7 separate regions of the Homo sapiens genome follow, and regions 2, 3, 4, 5, 6 and 7 are each linked to region 1. Evidence: promoter capture Hi-C in 16 types of primary human blood cells and fetal thymus (Javierre and others, 2016). All regions are on one chromosome and are shown on one strand. Each heading gives the region's core, a stretch centred on a gene start or on the middle of the fragment in contact. The rest is flanking DNA. Distances are from core to core; before and after follow the strand shown. Region 1 holds the start of RSBN1L (round spermatid basic protein 1 like). Region 2 overlaps GSAP (gamma-secretase activating protein). Region 3 overlaps MAGI2 (membrane associated guanylate kinase, WW and PDZ domain containing 2). Region 4 overlaps GSAP (gamma-secretase activating protein). Region 5 overlaps MAGI2 (membrane associated guanylate kinase, WW and PDZ domain containing 2). Region 6 overlaps GSAP (gamma-secretase activating protein). Region 7 has its middle 18 kb from the start of DDX3ILA1.

What was found. Contacts are between HindIII fragments. The CHiCAGO score rates a contact against its expected background, and 5 or more counts as called.
Region 2: a contact is called between a fragment that was not itself captured here and the fragment with the promoter of RSBN1L in region 1, in 7 of 17 cell types (total B cells, total CD8 T cells, non-activated CD4 T cells and 4 more). The highest score is 9.0, in total B cells.
Region 3: a fragment that was not itself captured here is called in contact with the fragment with the promoter of RSBN1L in region 1 in 2 of 17 cell types (fetal thymus and total CD4 T cells); the score reaches 5.6 in fetal thymus.
Region 4: a fragment that was not itself captured here is called in contact with the fragment with the promoter of RSBN1L in region 1 in 6 of 17 cell types (non-activated CD4 T cells, naive CD8 T cells, total CD8 T cells and 3 more); the score reaches 11.0 in non-activated CD4 T cells.
Region 5: a fragment that was not itself captured here is called in contact with the fragment with the promoter of RSBN1L in region 1 in 7 of 17 cell types (total B cells, naive B cells, non-activated CD4 T cells and 4 more); the score reaches 10.9 in total B cells.
Region 6: a contact is called between a fragment that was not itself captured here and the fragment with the promoter of RSBN1L in region 1, in 11 of 17 cell types (monocytes, total B cells, non-activated CD4 T cells and 8 more). The highest score is 15.2, in monocytes.
Region 7: a fragment that was not itself captured here is called in contact with the fragment with the promoter of RSBN1L in region 1 in 1 of 17 cell types (total CD4 T cells); the score reaches 5.4 in total CD4 T cells.

Annotation. Positions count from the first base shown.
Region 1 is chr7:77,695,131-77,697,796 of GRCh38, reverse strand. It overlaps RSBN1L (round spermatid basic protein 1 like), which reads right to left and starts at 1,338. Exons shown (of 8, transcript NM_198467.3): 1 at 742-1,338. The coding sequence starts at 1,327. It overlaps APTR (Alu-mediated CDKN1A/p21 transcriptional regulator), which reads left to right and starts at 1,532. Exons shown (of 2, transcript NR_134254.1): 1 at 1,532-1,901. RefSeq lists silencers at 118-217, 508-827, 1,298-1,517 and enhancers at 1,038-1,267, 452-1,347, 1,348-2,243. The HindIII fragment of the contact is 2,163 bases long and covers 1-1,989 here.
Region 2 is chr7:77,329,181-77,331,846 of GRCh38, reverse strand. GSAP (gamma-secretase activating protein) reads left to right here. Exons shown (of 31, transcript NM_017439.4): 20 at 1,480-1,608; 21 at 2,456-2,514. Among named protein-coding and RNA genes, the nearest start is that of CCDC146-AS1, 82 kb to the right of the region's middle. The HindIII fragment of the contact is 2,831 bases long and covers 1-2,666 here.
Region 3 is chr7:78,043,463-78,046,128 of GRCh38, reverse strand. All of the region lies in intron 21 of MAGI2 (membrane associated guanylate kinase, WW and PDZ domain containing 2), which reads left to right. Among named protein-coding and RNA genes, the nearest start is that of DDX3ILA1, 54 kb to the right of the region's middle. The HindIII fragment of the contact is 2,343 bases long and covers 169-2,511 here.
Region 4 is chr7:77,345,404-77,348,069 of GRCh38, reverse strand. The region is part of intron 19 of GSAP (gamma-secretase activating protein); the gene reads left to right. Among named protein-coding and RNA genes, the nearest start is that of GSAP, 70 kb to the left of the region's middle. RefSeq lists an enhancer at 1-37. The HindIII fragment of the contact is 5,489 bases long and covers 1-2,666 here.
Region 5 is chr7:78,025,574-78,028,239 of GRCh38, reverse strand. All of the region lies in intron 21 of MAGI2 (membrane associated guanylate kinase, WW and PDZ domain containing 2), which reads left to right. Among named protein-coding and RNA genes, the nearest start is that of DDX3ILA1, 37 kb to the right of the region's middle. The HindIII fragment of the contact is 2,914 bases long and covers 1-2,666 here.
Region 6 is chr7:77,365,110-77,367,775 of GRCh38, reverse strand. All of the region lies in intron 12 of GSAP (gamma-secretase activating protein), which reads left to right. Among named protein-coding and RNA genes, the nearest start is that of GSAP, 50 kb to the left of the region's middle. The HindIII fragment of the contact is 6,987 bases long and covers 1-2,666 here.
Region 7 is chr7:78,007,200-78,009,865 of GRCh38, reverse strand. No RefSeq gene overlaps it. Among named protein-coding and RNA genes, the nearest start is that of DDX3ILA1, 18 kb to the right of the region's middle. The HindIII fragment of the contact is 6,998 bases long and covers 1-2,666 here.

The sequences.
Region 1 (2,666 bases), core at 89-2,588:
ATGCTCAAACATTCTGCAGCCGCTTGATCTGGCGAAAAATCGTCAAAGCTCCTGGTTTTATCATTTGCTGCAGGGAAAAAAAGAATATGGCTGAAAATTCTTTCAGAAGGGTGGTATTTCAAACAGGACCACCCAAAACACTTAAGAATACGCAGCGGAGAGTAGGGTGCAGGGAGGGTACCTTACGAAACAGCGCACTTCGGGCCCTGCACGCTACCTCATTTCCCTAATAGGGATGAAAAGCTCAGGCCTCTGGTAGCTTCCAGCTGACGCCAGTGCTCTCTCCACACCCCTTTTTTGACAGGATTATCCGGGGTTGAACGCTGTGTCACAAATACGAATTCCCGCGACCACGTCTAAGTGGTCTAACAATCAATCAAGCATCTTTTACAAAACCAAACCCTTCCCCCATCCCGTTCCCTCCATCTCTCTCCCTAGCCAAACAAACCTAGGAGAGTCCTCAAGATGGATTTTCACAAATCCTGCAGCGCACTAACTGGGAGGAAGAAACGATACAGAAAATAAGAGTGTCGGCCATCCCCCTCTCTGCAACCGAAATTACAGGCTCCATTTCCTGTCCCCTTGGGAACTGCAAAATCCTCTGCTGAAAACCGGACGCCTCCCAGCCCCTCCAGGCCGGCGCACGCGGCCGCCGCGCTCCCCCTTCCCGGGCCCCGTGGGCGCCAGGGGGCGGCGGGGACCCACGGCGCCCTCCCCTCCCCCTCCCCGCACGGCACCCACCTCGGGGCAGCGGCTTCACCTCCCCGTTCTCCTCCCGGGAGGCCCCGCCGGCCTCTCGGGCCCCACCGAGACCGTGCCTCCTCCTCTCCTTCTCCCGCTTCTCCTTAGGTCTGCGCGACTTGGCGTTAGCCGAGGCAGCGGCGGCGGCGGCGGGCAGGAGGAGATGGTGAGGCTGAGCGTGCAGCAGCGTAGGAGGGACCAGCAGTTTGCGCGGCACCGGCTGAGACAAGGAAGCGGAGGCTGAGGAGGGAACGGCCGTGCCAGCGGAGAAAGAGAAACTGCTCCGAGAAGAGGACGGGGAGGGAGCAGCAGACAGAGGGGCAAAGCTCCAAGACGCGGGGCTGCCATAGCTCTGAGGCGAAGGTGCTGCCGGCGGCTGCAGCTGCCTGCTGTTCCCGCCGCTGCCCCCTTCTCCGTTCACTCTCCGCGGTGCCTTCTTCTCCTCAGTCCGGACCTTCTTGGCGGACAGAGAACCCGGAGGGTCCCGGGAGGAGAGTTGCAGCTTGCCAAACGGTTCTTTCTCCGAGACGGTGGCGGTGGGGGCCGCGGCAGCGACACAGTGCACGGGGCTCGGCGGTTCCGCCATTTTGCGCTCCTGTTGTATTTACTCTCCTCCGCTAGCCGGCGCGGGGCAGGGGGCGGGCCCTCCGCGAGGGGTAGGGAAGGGGCGGAGCGGCCAGGCCACCAGCCGGCATTGCTCCATTGGGCAAGCCACGCTGAGGGATCCACCTAAGAGCCAATCAAAGGCACAAACATCAGACGAAGGGGCGGGATCGCCACAGGGACCCTCTTCGGAGGTCAGAGCTCGGCGGGGTGCGGCTAGTGGCGGAGCGCGCTGCGAGGGGAGGGCTTTCCACTGTCGCTGGCGTGAACTCGCGTGCCCGGTGGGTATCAGGGAAGAACCCCCGCCCCGGACCCCCAGATCTGCCATGGCCGAGGTAGCGATCGTCTCTGCGGCCACGAAGACTGTTTTAACTTGTACCACTTTCCCTTCCATTTTTCCTGGGGTGCCTCTCACCCTGCATCTGCGCGTTCAGCAAGCTGGATTTCGGGAATGCTCAGTTCAGAAGAGAAAAAATTGCCGGGAATCAAGTCCTTCTTTTTGTTAGTCGGTAGTCGATTGATGGGAAGTGTTCAAAATCATTCGATGTGGTGACAAGGTACGTTATTATTGCTAGATCATGTGCTGTAATCCATTGAAGGAGATAACTTCCAGCAAATCTAGAACTTTAGTATTACTTACAAGCTTGAAGGTGAGAGTCTCCCTTTGGAGACTTTTGAACTGTTGTGACTAGACCCTTAAGATTTTTATTTTATTTATTTATTTATTTATTGGGACGGAGTTTTGCTCTGTTGTCGAGGCTGGAGTGCCGTGGCGCGATCTCGGCTCACCGCAACCTCCGCCTCCCAGATTCAAGCGATTCTCCTGCCTCAGCCTCCCCAGTAACAGGGACTACAGGCGTCCGGCACCATGCTTGGCTAATTTTTGTGTTTATTAGAGACGGGGTTTCACCATGTTGGCCAGGCTGGACTCGAACTCCTGATCTCAGGTGAGCGGCCCACCTCCGCTTCCCAAAGTGCTGGGATTACAGGCGTGAGCCACCATGTGCGGCCTTAAGATTTGAATTTTATAATAATTATTATAGCCGGGCGCGGTGGCTCACACCTGTAATCCCAGCACTTTGGGAGACCGGGGCGGGCGGATCACGAGGTCAGAAGTTCGAGACCAGCCTGACCAACATGGTGAAACCCCGTCTCTACTAAAAATGCAAAAATTAGCTGGGCATGGAAGCGCGCACCTGTAATCCCAGCTACTGGGGAGGCTGGGGCAGGAGAATCGCTTGAACCCAGGAGGCGGAGGTTGCAGTGAGCCGAGACTGCGCCACTGCACTCCAGCTTGGGCGACAGGGCAAGACTCCGTCTCA
Region 2 (2,666 bases), core at 44-2,543, 370 kb after region 1:
ATTATAAATAAATGGAAAGGGAAAGAAAAGATGAGTGAGGTGAGTCAAGTGAGGAGTGGGATTTGATTCCTGTTTTCCCCGGGACATGAGACTTTCTTGGGAAGAGTTTTTCTGTCTCTGGGAGAAGGGATGTTGGCTGGATGGGCATTTCAGGCTTCTGAAAGAGCAAGTTTTAATATTATGTTACTTACTTTACTGATACTCCAAAACACATTTCAAACCAATTATGACTGTCTTTTGAATAAAAATGGTAATAATGTGCTATAATTTAACATGAGGGCATTTTTCTTGATTGAGGTGTTTTTGTTTGTTTGTTTTTAAGTTTTCTTATTTTTCTTGCAGTTCAGCCAAGTCTTGTCACCTTGGCAGGCAATAGTTCACTTAGTTTTATGACCACACATTACATCTCTGGCCCCAGTCAAATCATTTGTAAATGCACATATTTTGGCAAAAAGTATCCTAAGTCTACCTTTATTGGTTTAAAACCAAGTTGTGTCAGAATATCCTTCAACACTAAGAATGTATTTTTTTATTTTTATTTTTTTTGAGACGGAGTCTCGCTCTGTCACCCAGGCTGGAGTGCAGTGGCATGATCTCAGCTCACTGCTAGCTCCACTTCCTGGGTTCATGCCACTCTCCTGCCTCAGCCTCCTGAGTAGCTGGGACTACAAGCGCCCGCCACTGCACCTGGCTAATTTTTTGTATTTTTGGTAGAGACGGGGTTTCACCGTGGTCTCGATCTCCTGACTTCGTGATCCGCCCACCTCAGCCTCCCAAAGTGCTGGGATTACAGGCATGAGCCACTGCACCTGGTCAACACTAAGAACGTATTAACATTGCATTTTATTATTTAAAAATGAATATAATGGATACATTCTTGCTTCAGGGTAGTACAATTATATCAATAATTCAAAGATCTAGATAGAATGCTGACTAATTCTGTTTTGGTGTATGTGACAATGTAAAATTAGTTCATTTTATCTTTTTTTGATTCCTAGGTTTTGAAAAATGTCCTGGGCAGTAAATAAATTTAGCAGGAAAGTACGCCTACTCCATTTATCCAAATGTTAATGAACTTTCTCTTAGTGAACATGGCACTGTTGACACCACCTAAGTCATAAAAACGGGTCTCAAGGGAGGAAATGACTCAGTGTGTTTAATACAGGTTTCCCTGCTAAGCCTCAATCTGGGGAAGTCCTGTTGGTTTTGGGAAGTGAGCAGCAGTTCTCTATGTGGTTTAAAAAAACAACGACAAAAAAAAAAAAAAAAAAAAGAGACAGAAAATGAAGTGGGTAAAGAAGATTCTTTAAGTCTATTTTAGAATCCCTATTGGGTCTAGAATGCCATCTTCTGTACAAAGTATTCACTCAGAAATGTGGACCCTGAGAGCTCGGGAAATAAGGCTTGTGTAATACTCACTGGGTGGTTTGGGCCACTGGGCCTGCCTCTGAAGGCCACTGATGTTTTTGTCTCCTACAGGTGCTCAGCTTTAAGGGCTACTGGGAAAAACTGAACTCCAACCTAGAATATGTTAAGTACGCCAAGCCACACTTCCACTATAACAACAGTGTGGTCAGGAGAGAGTGGCACAACCTGATCTCTGAAGAGGTATGAGTGGGTCAGTGAGAACAAAGCCAGCAGCGAGGCATAGTGGACTGGATCCAGGTGATGCCTTTAAATCATAAGGCTGGCTTCCATGTGCAGCACTCTTCCCAATTGCCAGGGACTTGATCATTGTCATTACTGATCTCAATGGGCAGAGATGCTTCTATGATCTCTGTTCTCCTAGGGAGGAAACTGAAAAGCAGAAAGTTTAAGGGGACACACAGCACATTCATAGTAGAAGTATGATTAATATCCATGTCTCAGATGTGTTCTCAGGTTACTTATGTAGTTAAAAATTGATATTAAAAAATCTAGGTGTTCCCAACTTAGTGGTCATTAGGGGTTGGGGTAGTTGGAGGGAGAATAGTGGACGTGACTCACTGTCCAGGGGTGACCCAGGGAAATCTTTGGGGGTGATCGAAGACTTCTATGTGTTGATTGTGGTGGTACATTGTGGGACATGAATCTAAACATGATAAAATGACATAGAATGACACACACACATTGTGCCAATGTCAATTTTTGATTTTGATATTGTGCTCTAGTTAGGTAAGATATAAGCACTGAGGAGACTGGGTGGAGGGTACATTGCATCTCTCTCTAGTATCGCTGCATGTAGATTAGTGTTGTTGTGTGTAGTATATAGTTGACTCGCAGTTTCCTGTGAATCTGTAATTGTTTCAGAATAAAATATTTCTTAAAACTTTAAAAAAAATCTAGGTGTTCTGATTACCTGGAAAGTATATTTCTTCTCTCTGATGCTCTTAACTGTATTGCATTATATCCTTGACGTGAAAAGTCACCGATAAAACCTTTACCTTCCACATTTCTGACGTGTTCTCACTCCTAGAAAACAGGAAAAAGAAGGTCTGCGGCATACGTGAGGAATATTCTTGATAATGCAGTAAAGTAAGTGAAAGCAGAGGTTATCATATCTGTAAGATGGTTGACATTTACAATTACTTTGTTTTGTTGGCTACCTTTTATAGAAGTAGTTTACTTTTGTTGCATATCCCCAGCAAAATAATATTGTCAGCTTCATGAATGCAGCCACTTGGACC
Region 3 (2,666 bases), core at 91-2,590, 350 kb before region 1:
CCACCGTGCCTGGCCCACATTCCTATTTCTGGTCCTTTTAGGCCCCAGAGAAAGCGGGATTCCTTCCCTTGGTATTAAGTTCCTAACTCTCCTGAATTTCTCAACTGTGTGTTCATCATTCAAGTTCTGCCAGGTCTGAGACACCGGAAACCATCTAGTTCTTAAGCTTGGCATTGACGGGAAGGATGCAAGGCCACTGAATGTCCAATAGAGCAAGTATCACAAGGTTTATATATTAGTACTTAGTATAGGATGGCTGCTGGCAGGGAAAAGTTAAGGGACAGAGAATGGAGATGAAATGTAACATCTCCCATCCGGAGTATGGGTTCTGTGGGATAAGGCTATAAAGCACCCTGCATGCATGCTCTTTACTAAGAGAACTGTACATAATTGTAAAGGAAATTGGAGTCAGGCTCTGATTAAGTGAATCTTCAGATCTCAGATGAAGGCAAAGAGGGCTTGTCTCACATATAAACATAACCATAAAATTGTTGACTGGAACTGAAAAGGCTCATGAAAACGCCATCATTATTCAGCTTCTTTTTCTCAAAGATGTATTTCTGAGGGACTTTTCTATATCTTTATATCGCTCAGTATGTAATTCTATTAAAGTGCTTAACACATTGTATCATATTTATTTCTTCAGGTATTCTTTTCCTTTCCCTAGAATGTGAGCTGCTCAAGGTCATGAAGAGAAGTGTTTCTAAATTCATTTTCATATTCCCAATGGCTAGCACATTGCTCTAACTTAAGGATATGGATAGGTCACCCAGTGTTTGACGAAATGAGTGAATGGATGAATGAATAACAAAACTAAAAAAAATAAGACCCCAACCAAAGATCATTAAATGGCTGTTGCTGTCCTCCTATATACCTATGTCTCTACAATTTAAGTACATCCTTAGATTTATTATTGGTTTTGATTTTGTTTTATTTATTTTATTATTTATTTATTTATTTTTTGAGACCAAGTCTCGCTCTATCGCCAGGCTAGAGTTCAGTGGTGCGATCTCGGCTCACTGCAACCTCTGCCTCCTGGGTTCAAGCAATTCTCCTGCCTCAGCCTCCCAAGTAGCTGGGACTACAGGCATGTGCCACCACGCCCGACTAATTTTTGTATTTCTAGTAGAGACGGGGTTTCACCGTGTTGGCCAGGATGGTCTCTATCTCTTGACCTCGTGATCCACCCGCCTTGGCCTTCCAAAGTGCTGGGATTACAGGTGTGAGCCGCCGCACCCGGCCACATCCTTAGATTTCTGAGACAGACTTATCAAATAAAGTCTCTTGAGTCCTAAGTTTCTATTCACATTTGGCCTTTATTCCCATTCTTAGCAAAAGGTAACACTGAGATTCTATGAAAGGCCAGCTTAACTTTGCCACTCATTCCATCTCTCAGTGGGAGCCAACTGCGTGTGCACACGTGCACACACACACACACACACACACACACGGTACATTAGCCTCACAAGGCACTGACTTTGTCTATCTTGTTGATCATTGTATCCTGACCATCTACCAAGTCCCCAAAAATATGTGTCAACTGAAAAAATGAATTAAGGATTTCACAGTGTACTGTCGTACTAACCAGTCTTCCATACTGCTGTGAAAAAGAAAAAGAACAAAAAGCTATACTAAAACTCCACATTGATTCAAAGTGATTTGCTAGTGTTCAGCAAAAGGAGAATCTAGAGTCTGCAGATGTGTTAATGCCATCGTGGGTGGCCCTTACACCTCTATCATTCTGTCTCTGGAATGGCAGTAATTGCAACTGACCTGTCTTCCTCATAGCTATGTTGGAGAGAGGAAAAGAAAGATCTCTTCTCTAGTCCTATACAGACATACACACATGCCTCTATTAGTTAAAGCAGCCATATGTCTACTTAGAAATAATGGATGACAAACTTAAAAAGTGAGAGAATGCTATAGGAACTCTCGGTTCTGAAAAGGAAACATTAATGGTACCGTAAATTTTGGAGTTGGGGGAGTCACATTATTTTAATGAACATTTCTCATAAAATAATAGAATAATGATGTCCTCCTCATAATAGAAGTGCAAGTTATAACACAAATTATCCCCATTGGTTTTTCATTTACCTTTAATCATGCTACCCTGGGAAAATAGAGGAGTAAAGAGAATTAGCTTGAACCTGAAAGATTTCTACTCTAGTAACTGGCCCAATCCATTAATTGTCACTATTCTTTTTTGCATTTGCTTTAGGTGAAAGTCTGGCAAAAATCAAACTTAGTAAAACTAGTAATTATACCAAAAATACATTAGTTCTCAGTTTGTTAGTTTTTGAGGCTGAAACTTACACCTCTTAAGGTTTATAATTATTTCCCCTCAGTAAATTGTGGATTCCTGTGTTCTAGGGAAAGGCATTGCCAAAAATAAAGTGCAAGCTGCTTAATCTTCACTCTTTCCTAAGCAAACGACGATGTGAAAAGTTGACCGTGAAGACATTGTCTGTACATCCGTTAAAATTTCTTTGACTCGCTCGACTCATTCAAGCTTAAAGGCTAAAAAAGAAGAAGGCACTGACAGGCCTTCCTCTGGGACTCTCTGAATCCCAAATCCAGCTTTGTCAGTTATTTCAAGTGGATATAAATGGAGATTTTGGCCAATCCTTTCCAGCCCCAGAGGTCAAGGGAGCAGCTGCACTTCTAAA
Region 4 (2,666 bases), core at 102-2,601, 350 kb after region 1:
AGCCTCCTGAGTGGTTGGTACTACAGTCATGAGCCACCATACCCATCCAGTTTCTTATTTTTTCTTATTTTTTTTTTTTTTTGTAGAGATGGGGTCTTGCTATGTTGCCAGGATGATCTCAATCTACTGGCCTCAAGTCATCCTCCTGCCTTAGCCTCTTAGAGTGCTAGGATTATAGGTGTGAACCACCATGATGGACCATAATTTTTTAATGGACAACAAACCAGTGAAGAAAAATTTTGAAAGAAATATCATCCATAATTCTACAGTTCCTAATGTACCAACTGTCTCTTCTCCCCCATTTCCTCTTGGCCTTTGTTATAGGTATGCATATTTTACCCAGTAGTAATTGTGATCTACAGATATTAGATAAATTTTAGAAATTATGTTATTGTAAACATTTTTTCATGTTGCTATGTAAACTTATAATTTCTAATGACTCCATAGGATTCCACTGGATGGCAGTGTCTTTTTCTTTTTATTATTTTAAATTAGTAAGTGTGTGAGGAAAAACTCTGTCCAAACTGTGTTTTCCCTCTCTCTCACACTGCAACAATAATCATCAACACAGAAAAACACTTCTGTTACCAAATGTGTGGGAATTCTTCATGTACCAAGCAGCAGACACCAGCTGGGTGTCCTTTAATTCAGTTCTGACACTATCTACCTAGAGACAGTGTCAGATCCCACAGGTTGGGGGACATAGTCCCCAAGACTACCCTCCACACCCCCAGATAACAGGTGCAAGTCCAGACCTCTGGAACTTCTGACCAACTGTCTTTAAGTTGGGGTTCCCACGGTACCTCTTTAGGTTTGATTAATTTGCTGGGGTGGCTCACAGAACTCAGGGAAACATGTTTACTGGCCTATTATAAAGGATATTGCAAAGGAAACAGATGAAGAGACGCATAGAGTGGGGTATGGGGGAAGGGACGTGGAGCTTCCATGCCCTCTTTCGATTCACCACCCTCCAGGAACCTCCACCTGTTCAGCTATGGGGAAACTTCCCCAACCCAGTCTTCTGGGATTTTTATGGAAGCATTCCTTCCCTCCAGGGTATGAGGCAGGACCCTCTTAGGGGAGGGTCTTAAGATCTGCAATCAGAAAGGCAGGGGGGTGGGGCGGGGGGTGGTGGTGGGGAGTGGTGGAGGGGAGAGTCATGCCTTAGGGCAGGTGAAAGGAAGGCAGGAGAGAGAGTTTCCCGAGACTAGTCCTGGTCCCGAAGCCTAAAATACCCGATATTATAACATCAGGCTGTAACAAAGGCTATGGGCATTGTGAACCAGGAGTGGGTGGATGAAAATTAATACATACAAAACACCACAATAAGTATGTCATACTTTTTTTTTTTTCTTTTTTTGAGGTAGGGTCTCACTCTGTTGCCCAGGCTGGAGTGCAATGACATAGTCACAGCTCACTGCAACCTTGAACTCCTGGGCTCAAGCAGTCCTCTTGCTTCAGCCTCCTGAGTAGCTAGGACTACACGTACATGTCATCATGTCTGGTTAATTAAAACTTTTTTTTTTTTTTTTGGTAGAGACAGGGTCTTACTATGTTGCCCAAGCTAGTTTCAAACTCCTAAGCTAAAGCCATCCTCCTAACTCGGCCTCCCAAAGTGTTGGTATTACAGGTATGAGCCACCATGCCCTGCTGGGTTGCAGTGCCTTAACTCAATTGTTCTTCTGTTTTTTGGACATTTAGTTTGTCCCTAGCCCCCATTAAAAAAATTTCTTTTTGCTGTTAGAAATAATGTTGCAGAGAATTTTTTTTCTTTCTTTCTTTTTTTTTTTTTTTTTTTTGAGATGGAGTCTCATTCTCGTTGCCCAGGCTGGAGTGCTTTGGTGTGATCTCGGCTCACTGCAGCCTCTGCCTCCTGGGTTCAAGCGATTCTCCTGCCTCAGCCTCCTGAGTAGCTGGGATTACAGGTGTGCACCACTATGCCCGGATAATTTTTGTATTTTTAGTAGAGGCGGGGTTTCACCATGTTGGTCAGGCTGGTCTCGAACTCCTGACCTCAGGTGATCTGCCCACCTCGGCCTCCCAAAGTGAACATTTTTATACATACAGTTTTTCTTTTGATCTATTCCCCTAAGGTTAAGAGCCCAGAGGTAACATTGGGTGAAAGGCTATGACGATTTTTATAGCATTTGATTCTTATTTTGTGATAAATTGATATTCAATGAAAGGGATGTCACGTGCGTCCAGGTGAAGAGACCACCAAACAGGCTTTGTGTGAGCAATAGAGCTTTTTAATCACCTGGGTGCAGGCGGGCTGAGTCCGAAAAGAGTCAGCGAAGGGAGATGGGGTGGGGCCGTTTTATAGGATTTGGGTGGGTAGTCAAAAATTACAGTTAAAGGGGGTTTTCTCTTATGAGCAGGGGCGTGTGTCACAAGTTGCTCAGTGGGGGAGCTTCTGAGCCAGGAGAAGGAATTTCACAAGGTTAATCGCTCAGTTAAGATGGGGCAGAAACAAGTCGCAATGGTGGAATGTCATCAGTTAAGGCAGAAACCGGCCATTTTCACTTCTTTTGTGATTCTTCACTTCCTTCAGGCCATCTGGATGTATACGTGCAGGTCACAGGGGATATGATGGCTTAGCTTGGGCTCAGAGGCCTGATAGTCCTGTCTTCTTATATTAATAAGAAAAATAACATAAAATAGCATTG
Region 5 (2,666 bases), core at 110-2,609, 330 kb before region 1:
GGCCATTAACGATGGCTCCATACTTGGAAACAATGCTTCAGAAAGAGCAGATGCAAAGTAAAACCATTTGTTCTGCAATTTTCAAGGTACTTTTGTTTATATTTTGTTACAAAAAGCAATCACCTTAGTGATGGCTGAACAGATGCAAATGAACCTTTATAGTTTGAACACAATTCTTAAAAGGTTTTTCTTTTGAATGCCAAATGACTTCACATTACTGTCCTTTGATCTACCTTAATCATTTTAGTATTTTCCCATAATATTCTAAATTAAAAGAAAATAGATTTCAATAAAACCACACCAGTATTGTCTAACCCCAGACAACTGTAGGTTGCAACAGGAAAGAGTTTTATAACAAATGGCACTAAATTCATGGATATTTTTACAGAATAATTCTAGTCATTTGAGCAGTAAAAGTATTTATGTCTCAAAGTGACTCAGTGTCTCCAGTATCTAATATATTTTCAATTCAATCCAGCTTCAAGGAATGTCACTGTGAAGATATTTTTTTAAGTAGATAGTACTATCCCTGCCCTTAAGAAATCCAATTTTATTGTTCTCTGATTGCAGGTCATATTTCTTTTTCTTTTTCTTTCTTTTTTTTTTTTTTTTGAGATGGAGTCTCACTCTGTCGCCCAGGCTGGAGTGCAGAGGCATGATCTCGGCTCACTGTAACTTCTGCCTCCCAGGTTCAAGCGATTCTCATGCCTCAGCATCCCGAGTAGCTGGGATTACAGGCATGTGCCACCACACCCGGCTAATTTTTGTATTTTTAGTAGAGACGGGGTTTTACCATGTTAGCCAGGCTGGTCTTGAACTCCTGACCTCAGGTGATCCACCCGCCTTGGCTTCCCAAAGTGCTGGGATTACAGGTGTGAGCCACCGCGCCTGGCCTGCAGGTCATATTTCTATCATTTTCACAGATCAATGCTCTAATCATAGCGACTGTGTCCAAGGTTCAAACACAAATGGCGTTTGAGAGTCTCCATTAGGAATAACGATGGACCTGCTTCTGACAATCACTTTAGATGGAAGTTTCTGTTATACTGCCCCAGAAGAAGACATGAGCCCTCATTTCTCAATCAGACTAGCAGACAGTAAAGACATTCAGCGTCAGTGTTTCAGCTGAGTTTGTAGAACATTACCCAATTCCGAAAGCCATTCAATGCCCCTTAGCTACCAGCTGTGTGGCCTTGAACAAGTTCCTTAACCTCTGTGTCTCTGTTTCCTCATCTGTAAAATGTGTCAGTTTACATGTATTAACATGAGTTAATACATTTCAGGGCCTTCAAAGAGTGCCTGGCATCTAGTAAGTACCTCAGTCAGTGTTAGCTATTGCCATTATGAGTAGTATCAATAGCAATAATGCTTCTATTATCTTCCTGACCACTCTAATCCAAGACGCAGTCGTTAGGCCCTGGGTTCATGCCCTGTAATGAGAGTAGGAAAGCAATGTAGGAACTCTTATTCATGGCTTTCGGAAACACCCAGCCTGAAGCTGGATGCCCTGAGGCCACTGGTGAGGTATGGGACAGCTGACAAAGTCTCTTTCCCCACCCCACCTCCGGCCCCACCCGAACCCCACCATTGCCCACAGTCTCTGGCTCCCTTCTAAGGGTTTTCTTGTTTATGTTTTGTTATAAAGAGCAATCACCTTTGTGATGGTGGAACAGATGCAAATGAACCATTATAATTTGGGCACAATCCTTAAAAGATTTTTCTTTCTCAACCTCTGTGTCTTCAGCACAGGATAAAATTAACTCTCCTTTGATGTGGGTTATGCTTTCCTCTTCTGCACAAATGTTTGCTGGAGTTAAGAGCCATATGGGAAAACCAAGAATACAGATACTTATTTACTGCAACAAGCAGTTTATTCCTATTGGGTCAGCTCTCTGGTTTTACCATCACTTTGGTTATATATCATAAACAAGCTGTTGAAACACAATTTCTGTAGATGAGATTTTTTATTTCTGGCATATGAAGTGAAGGAGCACATTTTATTTTTTAATATTGCTGGGCTCCTACAAGATAATTTGAGAAACCATACATCTTTTAACTAAAACATAATGGGGTGTGTGTGATCTGTGTGTATATATACTGATATGTACTTATGGATTAATCAATCTGTTTTCTAGGAAAGATCCAAACTGGCTAGAACTGACAATAGGAAGGGTAAGAAACTTGATCCTAACTTAGGAGAGGGGCTTGCTTCTCCCACAGTGGAATATAAGATATTTAGAGTCTATCTTACCTGTGGGTTCATTGGAACATTTTCTGGCATGTTGGTTAATGACTTCCCAGGGACAGAGCTCCTTTAAGTAAAGCTATTACTGCATCATTAGAGCTCATAACACGGGAAAGAACATCCATAAAAATTCAGAATTTGACTTTGCGCCCTGGGAATCTGAGCTTCTCTTCATCCCTGTCCATCCTAAGGGGCCTCCGATGAAAGCGGGAACTCTTCCCAGTGTATTTCTGTGGCTGGCTTCCTCCTTGTTCCCTCTCCCCAAACTTAGTCATTTCCCCTCCCGCTTCACATACACATTACCATTTCACCACCATCATCCCTCTCAAAACTGATCAAAGTTCCAAATACAAACCTGTTTTTGACAGATTATACTTCAAATGAAAATCCTTTGCCCTGAAGTGTTTCCTCAAGTCAGCAT
Region 6 (2,666 bases), core at 82-2,581, 330 kb after region 1:
CATTCCTACTGAAACCCTTTCAAAAAATTGAGGAGGATGGACTCTTCCCCAGTTCATTCTATGAGGCCAGCATCATCCTGATACTGAAAACCTGTCAGAGACATAAGAACAAAAGAAAACTTCAGGCCAATATCCTTGATGAACGCTGATGCAAAAATCATCAAAATACATGGAAACCAAATCCAATAACATGTCAAAAAGCTAATCTACCACAGTCAAGTAGGTTTCATCCCTGGGAGGCAAGGTTGGCTCAACATATGCAATTCAATAAATGTGATTCATCACATAAACAGAATTAAAGACAAAAACCACATTTATCTCAATAGATGCAGAAAAGGCTTTCGATAAAACTCAATACCCCTTCATGTTAAAAACTCTGAATAAACTAGGTATTGAAGGAAAACCTCAAAATAATAGCCATCTATGACAAACCCATAGCCAACATCATACTGAATGGGCAAAAGCTGGTAGCATTTCCCTTGAAAACTGGCACAGGACAAGGATGTCCTCTCTCACCACTCCTATCCAACATGGTATTGGAAGTCATAGCTAGAGCAATCAGGCAAGAGAGCATCCCAAATAGGAAGAGAGGAAGTCAGGCTATCCCTGTTTGCATACGGCATGATTCTGTAGAAAACCCCATAGTCTCAGCCCAAAAGCTCCTTCAACTGATAAACAACTTCAGCAAACTTTCAGGATACAAAATCAATGTACAGAAATCTCTAGCATTTCTTTACACCAACAAGAGCAAAGTCAAGAGCCAAATCAGAAAGGCAATCCCATTCACAATTGCCACAGAAAGAATAAAATACCTAGGAATACAGCTAACCAGGGAGGGGAAGTTAAAGATGTCTACAATGAGAATTACAAAACACTGCTCAAAGAAATCAGAAGTTACAAAGAAATGGAAAAACATGCTCATGGATAGGAAGAATCAATATCATTAAAATGACCATACTGCCCAAAGCAGTGTACAGATTCAATGCTATTCCTATCAAACTATCAATATTCTTCACAGAACTAGAAAAAACTGTCTTAAAATTCATATGGAACCAAAAAAGCCTGAGTAGCCAAGGTACACCTAAGCAAAAAGAACAAAGCTGGAGATATCATGTTACCCAACTTCAAACTATACTACAGGGCTACAGTAACCAAAACAGTATGGTACTGTTACCAAAACAGGCACATAGACCAATAGAATGGAATAGCGAACCCAGAAATAAGGCTGCACACCTATGACTACCTGATCTTCAGCAAAGCTGACAAAAGCAATGGGGAAAAGACTCCCTACTCAATAAATGGTGTTGGGATAACTGGCTAGCCATATATAGAAATTGAAACTGGAACCCTTCCTTACAACATAGACAAAAATCAACTCAAGATGCATTAAAGACTTAAATGTAAAACCCAAAATTTATAAAAATTCTGAAAGAAAACGTAGGCAATACCATCCTAGTCATAGGAATGGGCAAATATTTCATAACAAAGACATCAAAAGTAATCACAAAAGAAGCAAAAATTGACAAATGGGATCGAATTAAACTTAAGAGCTTCTGCACAGCAAAAGAAACTAACAGAGTAAACCAAACGACCTACAGAATTGGGAGAAAATATTTGCAAACTATGCATCTGACAAAGGCCTAGTATCCAGCATCTACAAGGTACTTAAATTTATAAGACAAAAACAACTCCATTAAAAAGTGGGCAAAGGACATGAACAGATACTTTACAAAAGAAGACATGTGGCCAGCAAGCATGTGAAAAACTCAGTATCACTGAGGATTAGAGAAATGCAGATAGAGGTTACAATGAGATACCATCTCATACCAGTCAGAATGGCTATTATTAAAAGTAAAAAAAAAAAAAAAAAAAAAAAACCCACAGTTGCTGGCAAGGTTGCAGAGAAAAGGGAAGACTTATACACTGTTGATGAGAGTGTAAGTTAGTTCTACCATTGTGGAAAGCAGTATGGTGATTACTCAAAGGCTAACAGCAGAACTACTATTGGACCCAGCAATCTGATTACTGGGTATATACTTAGAGGAATAAAAATCATTCTACCATAAAGATATACGTATGCAAATGTCAATTGCAGCGTGATTCATGTTAGCAAAGACATGGAATCAACCTAAATGCCCATCAGTGACAGATTGGATAAAGAAAATGTGGTACATACATACCGTGGAATACTGTGCAGCTATAAAAAAGAATGAGATCATGTCTTTTGTGGGAACATGGATGGAGATAGAGGCTATTATCCTTAGCAAACTAACGCAGGAACAGTAAAACGAAATACCTAGTGTTCTCACTTACAGGTAGGAGCTAAATGATGAGAACTCCTGAACACAAGGGAACAACAGACACTGGGGTCTTCTTGAGAGTGGAGGGTGGGAGGAGGGAGCGGAGCAGAAAAAGTAACTATTGAGTACCAGGCTTAATAGCTGGGTGATGAAATTATCTGTAAAAATAAACCCCTGTGATATGAGTTTACCTATATAACAAACCTTCACATGTACCCCTGAACTGAAAATAGAAGTTAAAAAAAATTCCTGTAGTCCCAGCTCTTTGGGAGGCCAAAGTAGGAAGATCACATGAGCCCAGGGAGTTCAAGACCACCCTGGGTAACATAGACTCCATCTCTTAAAAAAAATAAAATAATTAGCCAG
Region 7 (2,666 bases), core at 69-2,568, 310 kb before region 1:
TCTCGATCTCCTGACCTCGTGATCCGCCCGTCTCGGCCTCCCAAAGTGCTGGGATTACAGGCATGAGCCACCGTGCCCGGCCAAAATTCTTTTAATCTCTTATACCTGACTTTAGCCTGGCCAAATGGCAAATACTTGTGTCTTTTGAGCTTTGCCAAAGGCAACCTCAAAGGTGAAGTCAATAAGTTTTAACTAAAGTTATGACTTAACCATGAGTGTACAAGGTATTTTTAGAAAAGTGATAAGCAATTTTTACAAAATTTAGAGTCCACAAAAGTAGCTCTGAGAAAGGAAAATTCAAGAAGAGAAATCAGGCTGGGCGCGGTGGCTCATGCTTGTAATCCCAGCACTTTGAGAGGCCAAGGCGGGCGGATCACGAGGTCAGGAGATCAAGACCATCCTGGCTAACATGGTGAAACCCCATATCTATTAAAAAATACAAAAAAATTAGCCAGGTGGGGTGGCGGGCTCCTGTAGTCCCAGCTACTCAGGAGGCTGAGGCAGGAGAATGGCATGAACCAGGGAGGCGGAGCTTGCAGTGAGCCGAGATCGCGCCACTGCACTCCAGCCTGGGCAACAGAGCAAGACTCCGTCACAAAAAAAAAAAAAAGAGAGAGAAATCAGAAGTTGTGCATGGAGGGGCAGGGAATACAGTGATTTTTACCATTTCTACAACCAGTTTGCACAGAGAGAGAAGCCAGAAGTCTGACTGGTAAGAAGTTTAATATTTTCTTTTGGAGGGAGGGGATGCCATTTGCCCCACCCAACAGGCTTAGCCCTGTCATCCTTTTTCTACTCTCCATTATAAAAGACTTAAGAGGCTAATCTGAGGACTTCCTGCATGGTGTACTGGGTTTCGAAGCTGAGTCTTGTAATTTCTTTCCAGTTTATTTTTAAGCCAAGAAGTTTAAGATTTGAGGAAATTAAACTTTTCCCAGTTTTGGAGAATGCATCCAAGGGGCATGTCCTGTGGTATGGAGATGCGATTACCCATCTGCCACTCATGAAGAGAACAAAGGACGGGAAAAAAAAGAAAAAAGAAGGCATCCCCCCTTTCTTCCTATTATTCTGGATGGGGCATCCCCCATCGTCCTGGGTTCCAGGCTTAATCAGTCTTACTGTATACCCTTGGTTCTTGGTTCCAGGCTTAACCAGTCTTACTGTGTACCCTTGGGCAGATCTAGAATTCTAACCCAGGTCCGTCTTAATACAAAGTCTGGTATGGAGTAAGTGCTCAACAAGGAGTTGTTAAATAAAAGAATACTCCTTCCAAAACACTTCTGAGAGCAGGAGTGATTCAAGCCTCCCTGTTTCTCTGCAGGCATTTCTGAAACAGAGCATGCTCTGCCTAGGACTTCCTGGGCCATCTCTTCACCTGACACAGCCCATGTGTATACAGGATTTGTTCCCTAACAGTAAGACATCTAGCCTCGTTCCAGGGCCAGGAGCCAAGGACATGAACAGTAGAGTTAACCTAGCATTAGAATGGCAGGATTATTACTCTGGATATATATAATGATTGTTTTCACAGTGATATTATGCATATTTCCATTTGATTCTCACACTATATAAAATGGGAATGGGGACTATATCTTTGCAGAGACGAAGAAGTTGTGGTCTTTAAGATTATTTGCCCAAAGTCACGCAGCTACTAAGAAGCATAGCACTCAGCTTCTAAATCCCAATCTTAGACCCTTTCCAGCGCACAGCGAGAGGAAGGGTACAGAGGGAGTACAAGGACAAAGCCACCAAGTGGGAGGAGCCCATGGCTTGGGCAAAGGGGTGGGACAGGGGTCAAGACAACGGAAGAACATCAGAAGTGGGTAAGATGGTAGGGACTCCTAGACCATGTAGCTGGAGGGGACCTCAGAGAGAGGGAGACAAGAGGTTGTGCAATTTCAGGTGGGTCCTTCCAAATTAATATGATTAAAACGACTCTTAGGAATAAAGAATAAAACATGCTAATGAAAGCAGAACGCTCTCTTAATATCTTTAAATGCTTGCCTTAAGGCAAAAGCCACAGCAAAGGGAGACTGCTGAACCATTAGGCAAAGGAACTGTCCTATGCATCATAAATGCATTCACAAAAGTGTTAGGATGCAAAGAGTGCCTTGCTACTGGAAGCAAAGACAGAAAAGATTTGACTTCTTGAAATCCAGGTACCAGGAAAGACATGAGCCAATTTATTTTTCCAGCGCTTAACAAGATAATACAAATGAGCTGCAACTGCTTCAACCATAATGGACATGGAATAAAAAGAGAAATTCATAGAAAGAATGCTTCAGAACAGAGACCCATGTAAACTACCCTTTCCAAATGTTAAAAATTAGCAGGGGTCATAAGATTCAGGGACATACCTTCAACTATCTCTGTGTTCTGCAGGCATGCCTGGATTCTTGCTTCTTGATCTGGATTTCCAACTCTGAGATGGCCCTAGGCATGGCCCAAAGCAAGCCAAAGTGAGCAAATGCGGCACTACAAGACAAAGGCTGAGAATATATGTATATATACTCACACGTGAACACACAGAGACTCACGAGCACACAGATACCCAGATTCACACACATCTATCCAGGGACTCCAATTTTAGTACTTTCATTGTGACAAAATAACATCTATGCCAAAAAGTACACAAAAACATTTGGATGGTTTACTCAGTTTTAAAA